Regions from separate parts of the Homo sapiens genome. Here region 1 is linked to region 2. The links are contacts of gene promoters, found by promoter capture Hi-C in blood cells and fetal thymus (Javierre and others, 2016). All regions are on one chromosome and are shown on one strand. Each heading gives the region's core, a stretch centred on a gene start or on the middle of the fragment in contact. The rest is flanking DNA. Distances are from core to core; before and after follow the strand shown. Region 1 overlaps HECW2 (HECT, C2 and WW domain containing E3 ubiquitin protein ligase 2). Region 2 holds the start of ANKRD44-AS1 (ANKRD44 antisense RNA 1).

Region 1 (4,705 bases), core at 1,646-4,145, 970 kb after region 2:
AAGAGAAATGATGGGAAAATTTATAGTCAGAAATTTACAGGATGGCTGCAAATTCCATGCAAGGTAGAATTAGCCCCACAATACTAGAGATGTATGTATTCAATTTAGAAATACAAAAATAAGGCCAGGCGTGGTGGCTCACACCTGTAATCCCAGCACTTTGGGAGGCTGAGGCAGGCAGATCACGAGGTCAGGAGATTGAGACCATCCTGGCTAACTCATGGTGAAACCCCGTCTCTAATAAAAATACAAAAAAATTAGCTGGGCATGGTGGTGAGTGCCTGTACTCCCAGCTTCTAGGGTGGCTGAGGCAGGAGAATTGCTTGAACCTGGGAGGCAGAGCTTGCAGTGAGCTGAGATCACACCACTGCACTCCAGCCTGGGCGACAGAGCGAGACTGGGTCTAAAAACAAAAAAAAAATACAAAAATAATCCTAGAGTCTATAAATACAAATACTTTAGTTGATTAGTTCATCACCAACTAAGATCACATTTTATATTATGCTTTGGCTTTTTACAAAAAGTAGGTAGTTTCTAAGCCCTATCTTGTAACTAGTGATTTAATTTGGTTAGAGCTGGAGGTTTTGCTTTAGTCATGAAAATTTCCACACAACTTAATCTGGTTATCTGCCTTTGCAAAGTTGTGGGGAAGGGAGATCGGCAGTGGTGGAGTGGCTGAAAACTGAGTCATCTTGACTGAATGTGGCGTGAAATTGCACGCAGGGGTTGCCTATTTCTGCTGGGCATCAGTCTACTAAGAAGTTGCTTCTCTAGGGTTGAGGTCAATGAAATACTACATATTCTCCAGTGAATTATTCTACGTATTTTCCAGCTCTATTATTATACTGCACATTCTCCAGTGTATTATTTTCTTTTGAATTAAAAGTCCTAGCAACTAAAGTTATATGATTTAAAAAGTTACCTAGATGCTAGGCATGGTGGCTCATACCTATAATCCCAGCACTTTGGGAGGCCAAGGTGGGAGTATTGCTTCAGGCGAGGAGTTCCAAACTAGATTGGGCAACATAGTGAGACCCCATTTCTATAAAAAATAAATAAATAAATAATTAGCTGGTTGTGATGGCTTGTGTCTGTAGTCCTAGATACTTGGGAGGCTGAGGCAGGAGGATCGCTTGAGTCCAGGAGCTCAAGGTTACAGTGAGCTACGATTGTGCCACTGTACTCCAGCCTGGGTGACAGAGCAAAACCCTGTCACCCTGTCTCTTTAAAAAAAAAAAAAAACTGGATTAGACTGTTGTGTTCTGATAAGGCGTGGGGCCACTAATTTCTTAATACCCAAAACATTAAAGAAATAGTGGCCTGCGTAAAGAGAGGAGGTTTACACTGTGATTGCCCTGCCTCTTTTTCTCCATGGCCAACCCTGTAAAAGGCACCTTTCTTAAGAAAGAATGAGTTTATTATGTGTGAGGTGCCATCAATATGACATCAATCATGTCTTGCAGAGCCACACTTTGACTGGGGTGGAGATGTGTACAAGCAGTTTTAGTTTGGGAGTTTAAGAACTTCCTGTAATATCTTCCTTTTGAGCTTTCTGTAACTCCCCTGAGACAGGCAAATGAAAGCAACTAGGGAGGATGAGATCTGAAGGAGTTTTCTTCAGTCTCTGCTTATAAAGTAACCAACCAGTTCTTACATATGACTGGTCAGATCCTCACTAGAAGCTGTTTGAGGCCCTGAGCTTGGTCATTAATTTCTCAGAAATCTGTGAAGCTTCAAGGTACACTTTATGGTGTTCCCTTTTTTTCTTCCAAAAAGAGACATTCACAGGATAACCTAAATTACCCAAACCTTTCTAAAGAAGGATGCTTCTGTATCTAGGCTTTGGTTTGGTAGCACCTGGTAAGACTTTGTTTATCATATCAAAATACCTTACTCACCTACCAGGCTTTCTTAATTGGCTCAAGAACTAACACCTTGCTGCTATAAATATCTGAGGGTGAATCAGAAGGTGTGTAGGCCATGTGTGCCTGAACCAACTTGTAGGAAATGGTGTGACTTCCCAAGGCCATCATCTTCTTTCATTTTATAGTCTGCTTTCATTAGAATACTTAGTTTTCAGTAATTCTTAGTTGAAAATAAAGAATGGGAGAATAAAATTTGTTATTTTAACAAATTTTGGGTGCCACTGACAACTTGGGTGGAGTGCCAACCCAGCCATGTGATGATATTTAAAATGCTCTATCAGCACTTGGGGCTCCAGACTACATGGCCACCCTGGAGACATCTGTGCTTATTCGGAAATGCCCTCAGATGCAGCTGTTGTGCGGCTACACACCCGTCGTCCAGAGTTTTTATATTTCCGTGCCAAGCCTTTAGCTGTGGAACCAACCTAACTGGCAAAACAGGAATGTAACAGACAATCCCTGTGATATGAGTCATATTAACTATTTATATGAAAGAAGTTGCTAAGACATTACAGGAAGCAAAGGCATGATGTACCCTGCTGTGACATGTTTTACTGAGTTAGCTAGGCTTATTTATAAATTGTAATCTACAACCTGCTCTCAGATAGGCAGTTCTAAGCTTTGGATTATAATCAAATCAAAGTTTAAGACTATTTTGGCTTTAGAGGTGACTCCATCAGTGCTTCTAGAGTTAAAAGTCAGCAGATAAAAACTTGACCAGTTGAAGACACATTTTCTCCTAGAGGAACTAACTGTTAGCTCTGTTTTTGCTTGGGAAAACAAGACTTTTCATTTTCAGTTTAATTCCTCAGGGAACATTCATCTCATCTTCAGCCAGATTCAGCTATCATCATAAAAAGGGAACTAATCAGTGAGGTCAGTCTTTGTTGTTTTAGCAAACTTTACCACCTGAGAAGATATTACATGTTAAACTTTCTAAGCATAATTTACTTGATGATTTCTGACAATGTTTTCAAATTGAGCAACCTTTCAGGGATTGGTATAACCTGTTCATGTCATTGAATCAATATACCACTCAAAGGCAAATGTGCAAATCTGCTAGATACCAAATAACAATGTAAGCAATGTTGATTTTTCTTTAGAAAGCATCAAAGAGCTCCACTCATTGATTCAACAATATATATTGAGCCCCCACTGTGTATCAGGCTAGGTACAGATATAAAAATGAGTAAAACATGGTCCCTGCCCCAGTGTAGTTACAGACTAGTATGTATGTATAGGGGAGGCAGGCACATAGACAGATAATTGTAATGCACTCTATAAGTGCAGTATTATTAAAATACTCAGAGGTAAAGCTTAAAGAAACCCTGATACTTCTAACTGAATGCCACAGTTTAATTTTAAGCAGGCAAAATCCCATTTTACTTTTACCAGTTGTCTGTAAGAAAACTGACTCCTGAAGTATTTGCCTCATGTTTCAGCTGTCTCCGACCTTATCCATTGTATGCTCTATTGTGTCTGAAAGCCTCACAGAGAATGACCATGGCTGACGGGTGCTCACTCTGTGCCTCACACTTAGTATTCTACCCACTCCTTGAGGTTGCGTACACCCTAGGATATTGTAAGCTAGATTTTTTTTTTATTTGATACAAAGTCTCTCTCACTGTCACCCAGGCTGGAGTGCAGTGGCGCGATCTCTGCTCACTGCAAGCTCTGCCTCCTGGGTTCACGCCATTCTCCTGCCTCAGCCTCCCAAGTAGCTGGGACTACAGGCGCCCACCACCACATTCTGCTAATTTTTTGTATTTTTAGTAGAGACGGGGTTTCACCATGTTAGCCAGGATGGTCTCGATGGTCCTGACCTTGTGATCCGTCTGCCTCAGCCTCCCAAAGTGATGGGATTACAGGCGTGAGCCACTGCCCCCGCCCATAAGCTAGATATTTTAACAAGTAGTATTTTCCTCCTATTTTCTTTCTTTTGTAACAGAGGTTAGCAAAATTTTCCTGTAAAGGGCTAGGTGGTAAATATTTGGGATTTCACCAGTCAAACCTCTATGGCACCTACTCAACTCTGCCCTTGTAGCAGGAAAGCGGACAACATCAATACATAAATGGGCACAGCTGTGTTCCAGTAACACTTTATTTACAAACCAGAGGGTGGGGCAGATTGGACCTGCAGGTTTGCCAACCGCTACTCTATTAGCAGTATTTTTTTAGTCTTGATGAACATTTAAAATTGGCTGAAGGGTAGGCTGTAAGAAGTAACAAGCATTAAACTTGGGGTCAGGGCACCTGCCTGAAGACCCCAAGGCCTGCTGGTTCTTCCATTTGCAGTTTTCATGTGATACAAGTCAGTGATCTCTTTCGGCCTTAGTCGTCTCTATAAAATGATGGCATTGGACAAAATGACTTCTAAGATGACTTTGACCACGGGCATGCTCTGTTTCTAAAAGACACAGGGGACTAAGTCTCAAAAAGTGAAATTTTAATCGGGAAAAGTATGGTCTAGTGTTAAGGCCTTTTTTTTTTTTTTTTTTTTTTTTGAGACGGAGTCCTGCTCTGTCGCCAGGCTGGAGTGCAGAGGCGCCATCTGCAACCTCTGACTCCCTGGTTCAAGTGATTCTCCTGCCTCAGCCTCTCGAGTAGCTGGGATTACAGGCATGCGCCACCACACCCAGCTAATTTTTTGTATTTTTAGTAGAGACGGGGTTTCACCATGTTGGCCAGGATGGTCTCAATCTCCTGACCTCGTGATCCGCCTGCCTCAGCTTCCCAAAGTGCTGGGATTACAGGCGTGAGCCATGGCACCCAGCCATATT
Region 2 (4,687 bases), core at 797-3,296:
ATATTTCATAAAAATAGCATATTGTAGGTACTCAGAAAATGCTTTTGGCTCTGGTAGCACTTCTCTGTGCAATGTGGATAAGCACTGATAGAGGCTTGTTTGTTGTGGTACAAACTAGAAACAACCCAAATGCCCATTCGAAGGGGAATAATTGAATATGTTATGGCATATCCATACAATGGAATAGTATTATATATAGTTATTAAGAGAAATGATTTAATCCTGTAGCTATCGACCTGGGGGATGTCCTCAGTACATCATTATTTTTGCAAATTGTAAGAGAGGGAAATAAGCCAGGCATGGTGGTATGCATCTGTAATCCAGACTACTTGGATTACAGATACTTGGGTGGGAGGATCGCTTGAACCCAAGAATTTGAGACCACCCTGGACAATATAGCAAGACCCCCATCTCAAAAAAAGTGTGTGTGTGGGAAATAGTAAAATCCCATTTTCTGATAATAAATAACGATAATCTCATATATCTGTATCTGTACCTACCAACAAGAACACGGGCTGTTCACATTTGTGGTAGGAAAGGTTATTAAGTTTTTTCTTTATCTGTTTTTGTATTGTTGCAACAGGAAACCTACTAAGATTAAAATCCAGCAAACATAAGACAAAGATAAAATGCACAGGGGTTTTGATGCATTAGGTGTTTCCCATAGTACTTCCTATTTTTCAAACTTCGTGTGATTAAAAAAGTAAGTTTTATCCCTGACTAAATTTCAGTGTGGAAATAAAGAAATAAAGATAGCATGTACTTGGCTTAGGTATACTTGTTTTGTTCTTTCAGCTCGTTACGTAAAGATACATTTTTTTTTCTTTCTCATGACATGAAGATAAGCTTTCTTCTTACCAAAACCTAAACTGTGAAGGCAGCACCCAAGCCAAAAGCCTCGAGGCTCTGGTTTCTGTGGTGGGATGGGGAGAGAAGTAGGTTGCACAGATGTAGGATGCCAGCTGACTTCAGAACTTCCGGTCTCAGAGCTAACCAGGCTCGGCAAGCCACAAGAGAGAAGGAGCTTGCATAGGTGGAAGAGCAAAGAAAGCCAGTGCTGCAGAACTTCCGGTGCTCCTCCGCCGATGTCGGGCTGGCGCTGCTCCCGAGCCCTGTGTCCTGTGGAAGAAGTTGGTGAGAATCGTTTTGAATGTAGGCAGCCACTCCTGAGGAGGCTAGCCCTTGCTACATTAAAGGTGGAGCTAGATTTACATTTTATTTTATTTTATTTTATTTTTTATTTTTCGAGATGGAGTCTTGCTGTCGCCCAGGCTGGAGTGCAGTAGCACGATTTCAGCTCACTGCAACCTCCACCTCCCGGGCTCAAGCGATTCACCTGCTTCAGCCTCCCGAGTAGCTGGGATTACAGGGGCACGCCACCATGCCTGGCTAATTTTTTGTATTTTTAGTAGAGACGGGGTTTCACCATGTTGGCCAGGCTGGTCTCAAACTCCTGGCCTCAGGTGATCCACCTGCCTCGGCCTCCCAAAGTGCTGGGATTACAGACGTGAGCCACCATGCCCGGTCAAATTTACCTTTTAGATTCACATATTACCACCAGAAGAATGCTTCCTCTGACAACTGAGCGGTACTCCATCCCCAGAGCCCTTTGTGCAGACTATTATTGCAGTTTCCTAACTTGTTATGACACTCCAGCCTTTTCCTCCAGGTCATCATACAATCCATTTTTAGAGTGATTGTTCTAAAGCACAAATCTTAGGTCACTCCCCTGCTCAAAAACCACCCACTGCTCCCCCAGTTCCACAGAAGAGAGCTCAAATTTCTTAGCTTGGTATTCAAGACCTTCCATGATAGGATCCCTGTCTACTACTCAGCTTACCTCACTTCTCCCCTCCTCCAGCCAAATGAAACTGTTCCCTGTGTATGTTCAGGCTCCCTAGCTTCTGCTCACAGCCTTCTGAATATGAAGAAGGGAAAGTCCCTTACCATTCCATCCGTCTCTACCTGTTTAAATCCTCCCCAGTCTTCAATATTCATTTCAGAGGCTGCGTCTTTCAGGAGGCCAGGTACAATTTCTCTCCCTTCTCCATGCACTTCTCCTGCGGCCTGTGCCTTACATTCTAGCTGTGCGTATTTGTATACTTCCTGTTACACCTTGGTAACCTCATCAAGGGAGAGACTGACTCTGACATTCCAGTGTCTGAATTTCTTTCTTTCTTTTTCTTTTTCTGTGTTTCTTTCTTTCTTTTTTTTTTTTTTTTTTTTTGAGACAGGATTTCACTCTGTCACCCAGGCTGGAGTGCAATGGTGTGAGCATGGCTCACTGCAGCCTCAATTTCCTGGGCTCAGTTGGTTCTCCCACCTCAGCCTCCCGAGTCGCTGGGACTACAGGTGTGCGCCACCGTGCCCAGCTAATTTTTGCATTTTTAGTGGAGATGTGGTTTCACCATGTGTCTAGGCTGGTCTGGAACTCCTGGATTCAAGTGATCCGCCTGCCTTGGTCTCCCAAAGTGTTGGGATTACAAGCATGAGCTACTGCGCCCGGCCTCCAGTGTCTGAATTTCTTATGCTCAGTAAATGTCTTATGCTTAATACATCTTTGTTGAATTGAATGTGGTTATCTGAAATGTACCAAATTAAGTTTTAGAAAACATATCTTTTATCCCCTGTTGGAGGGGGTAGTGTGTAAAGAAATAAAGGAGCTACGCACTGGGTTGGTGTCTGTGAAAGGAAATATGATATGACTTCTTTTTTTTTGCAGAATTTCCCATTTTCCCATTTTATATTATCGAATGTTTTCCAGTCTCTTAGGCTCCTCTCTCTTCCTGCTGCCTTATCCTTTCCCTTTGACATCTGTCACTGGATGTCCTTACCATGATTTTGGATGGGGAAATGAGAAGATGCTTCCTGAAAGACTACACTGAGGGGATTCTCTAATAGATTTTCATTCCATGTGACTTTTTCTGGCTGGGGAGGGAGTAGGGGACCTTCCAGTCATCTCAGGCAGAAACTAATTCAGGTCCTGATCAACCCACTGCCTTAAATTTTAGAATGGTTGCTATAACAATTTTAGAATGGTTGCTATAACAAGATGCCTTAGGAAAAAAAAAATTGACAATGGCCAGAACAGGAAGGTGACTCCGTTTTACACATGTCCCTAGTCCCTCACCTGTGGAGAGGTGGTGAGAGTTTAACTGCTTGCTGTCTTTCCAAGAATGCACGTGGAATTCAAAGAAAAGAACAGTAGAAGGGAAGGAGAGGGTTTAAAGGAAAATTGTCATGGGCTTTGGAAAGACCTGATTGTGTAAAAATTGCTTGCTGGTGTTTGGAAAGAACCCAGGTGCTAACAGATTTTAGACAAACCCAATCTGGAGTTGCCTAAATCATGAATGATTTAATGTGACTGAGTTAATCCATATATCTTGTATACAGTAGTTCCAGCCTCCTCAAATGTAGCAGGAGATTGCCACCTTTCTGAGAGTACCTTTCATTTCTACATGCTGATTTTGTTGTTGTTTTTAAAGGACACTTGAATTGCTTTATTTAGCTTCCAATTTGTGAGATTCTCAAAAATTAAAATTACTCATGACCACAAGAAGATACTTCTGTAGTTATGGATCATTTTCTGCTATTTTTTATAAGGAATACTTTTTTATTGTTGTCTTTTTTATAAGTGATGCACATACCAGGTAGTAATAAAAAGTCATGTTTTCCAGTGCACCCTAAAACTGAACTGCTGTCTCTATTTGAACAGACAAATAAATTATACTGAATATACCTACAACCCTGAAAATCATCTTCTGGCCATTTTTCTTTTTTCCCCACAAAGATCACTAAAGTGGTTTATATTGATTAACATTATTAAATCCACCTCTCATGTTTGCAACTACATGAATTCAATATGCAGTAAGATACAGTTATACAAAGAATGTAACCCAAGCCAAGATGAGAAATAAAACCTCTATACCAATTTTTCAAAACAGGAAACTGTTGCAGAAGTATATATAGTTGTTCTTTTTGTTTCACTAAAATTACATGGATTTAAATGTTCTGTATGAACTAACCTCCTGGATCCATTGTCCTTTTTGCCCAAATTAGCTTTCTTTAAAAGTTAACTCCCCAACACAATTTAATTATCTTAGCTAAAGTTTAGGTTTGATCTCAAGCCATTTGAAACTAGACAGAGTGAAAAAATCTGTGGGTAGTTGGCAGCAGATCCTGATAGAAATATGGCACTTGGCAAAGGCTGTCTGCCTTGTTTTGATTTGCCTTTCTCTTTATGGATGTGGCCTATTTTTGAAATGTTATGATTTAAATTCAGCGATCAAGTGACAAGTCTGACAAAACAGAGCTTACATCCGCAGAGGTTCTGTGGGGGAAAAAATGGAAATGTTCCAGAACTAAAGGAAGTAACCTCAGTTTCACCTGGAAACATTAGTGTTTCGGAGGCAAGGGATTTGGGCTATATATAAAGAGTGAAGGAAAGTGGCCAAGATGCTGGGCCAAAATTGCATCCAGGAATAGAGCAGACATTAAAGAACCAAAAACTATATCTGTTGTTTTCACCGTATCCCTGTAAGTAGCACCTGGGGAGACTGTGATTAAAAAAAAGATGGGAAAGTTCTTTCCTGTGATGGCTTGGATTGTAGCAACAGCCTTCTAACTGGGCCTCTAACTCCAATCTCTCCTTCTCCAGTACTCAGTGTACACTTTGGCCAGATTAAAT

The links. Contacts are between HindIII fragments. The CHiCAGO score rates a contact against its expected background, and 5 or more counts as called.
Region 1: a fragment that was not itself captured here is called in contact with the fragment with the promoter of ANKRD44-AS1 in region 2 in 1 of 17 cell types (non-activated CD4 T cells); the score reaches 5.6 in non-activated CD4 T cells.

Annotation. Positions count from the first base shown.
Region 1 is chr2:196,230,817-196,235,521 of GRCh38, reverse strand. All of the region lies in intron 21 of HECW2 (HECT, C2 and WW domain containing E3 ubiquitin protein ligase 2), which reads left to right. Among named protein-coding and RNA genes, the nearest start is that of HECW2-AS1, 27 kb to the left of the region's middle. The HindIII fragment of the contact is 697 bases long and covers 2,547-3,243 here.
Region 2 is chr2:197,195,350-197,200,036 of GRCh38, reverse strand. It overlaps ANKRD44-AS1 (ANKRD44 antisense RNA 1), which reads right to left and starts at 2,046. Exons shown (of 2, transcript NR_135584.1): 1 at 1,948-2,046; 2 at 764-1,119. All of the region lies in intron 1 of ANKRD44 (ankyrin repeat domain 44), which reads left to right. RefSeq lists an enhancer at 931-1,000. The HindIII fragment of the contact is 4,177 bases long and covers 849-4,687 here.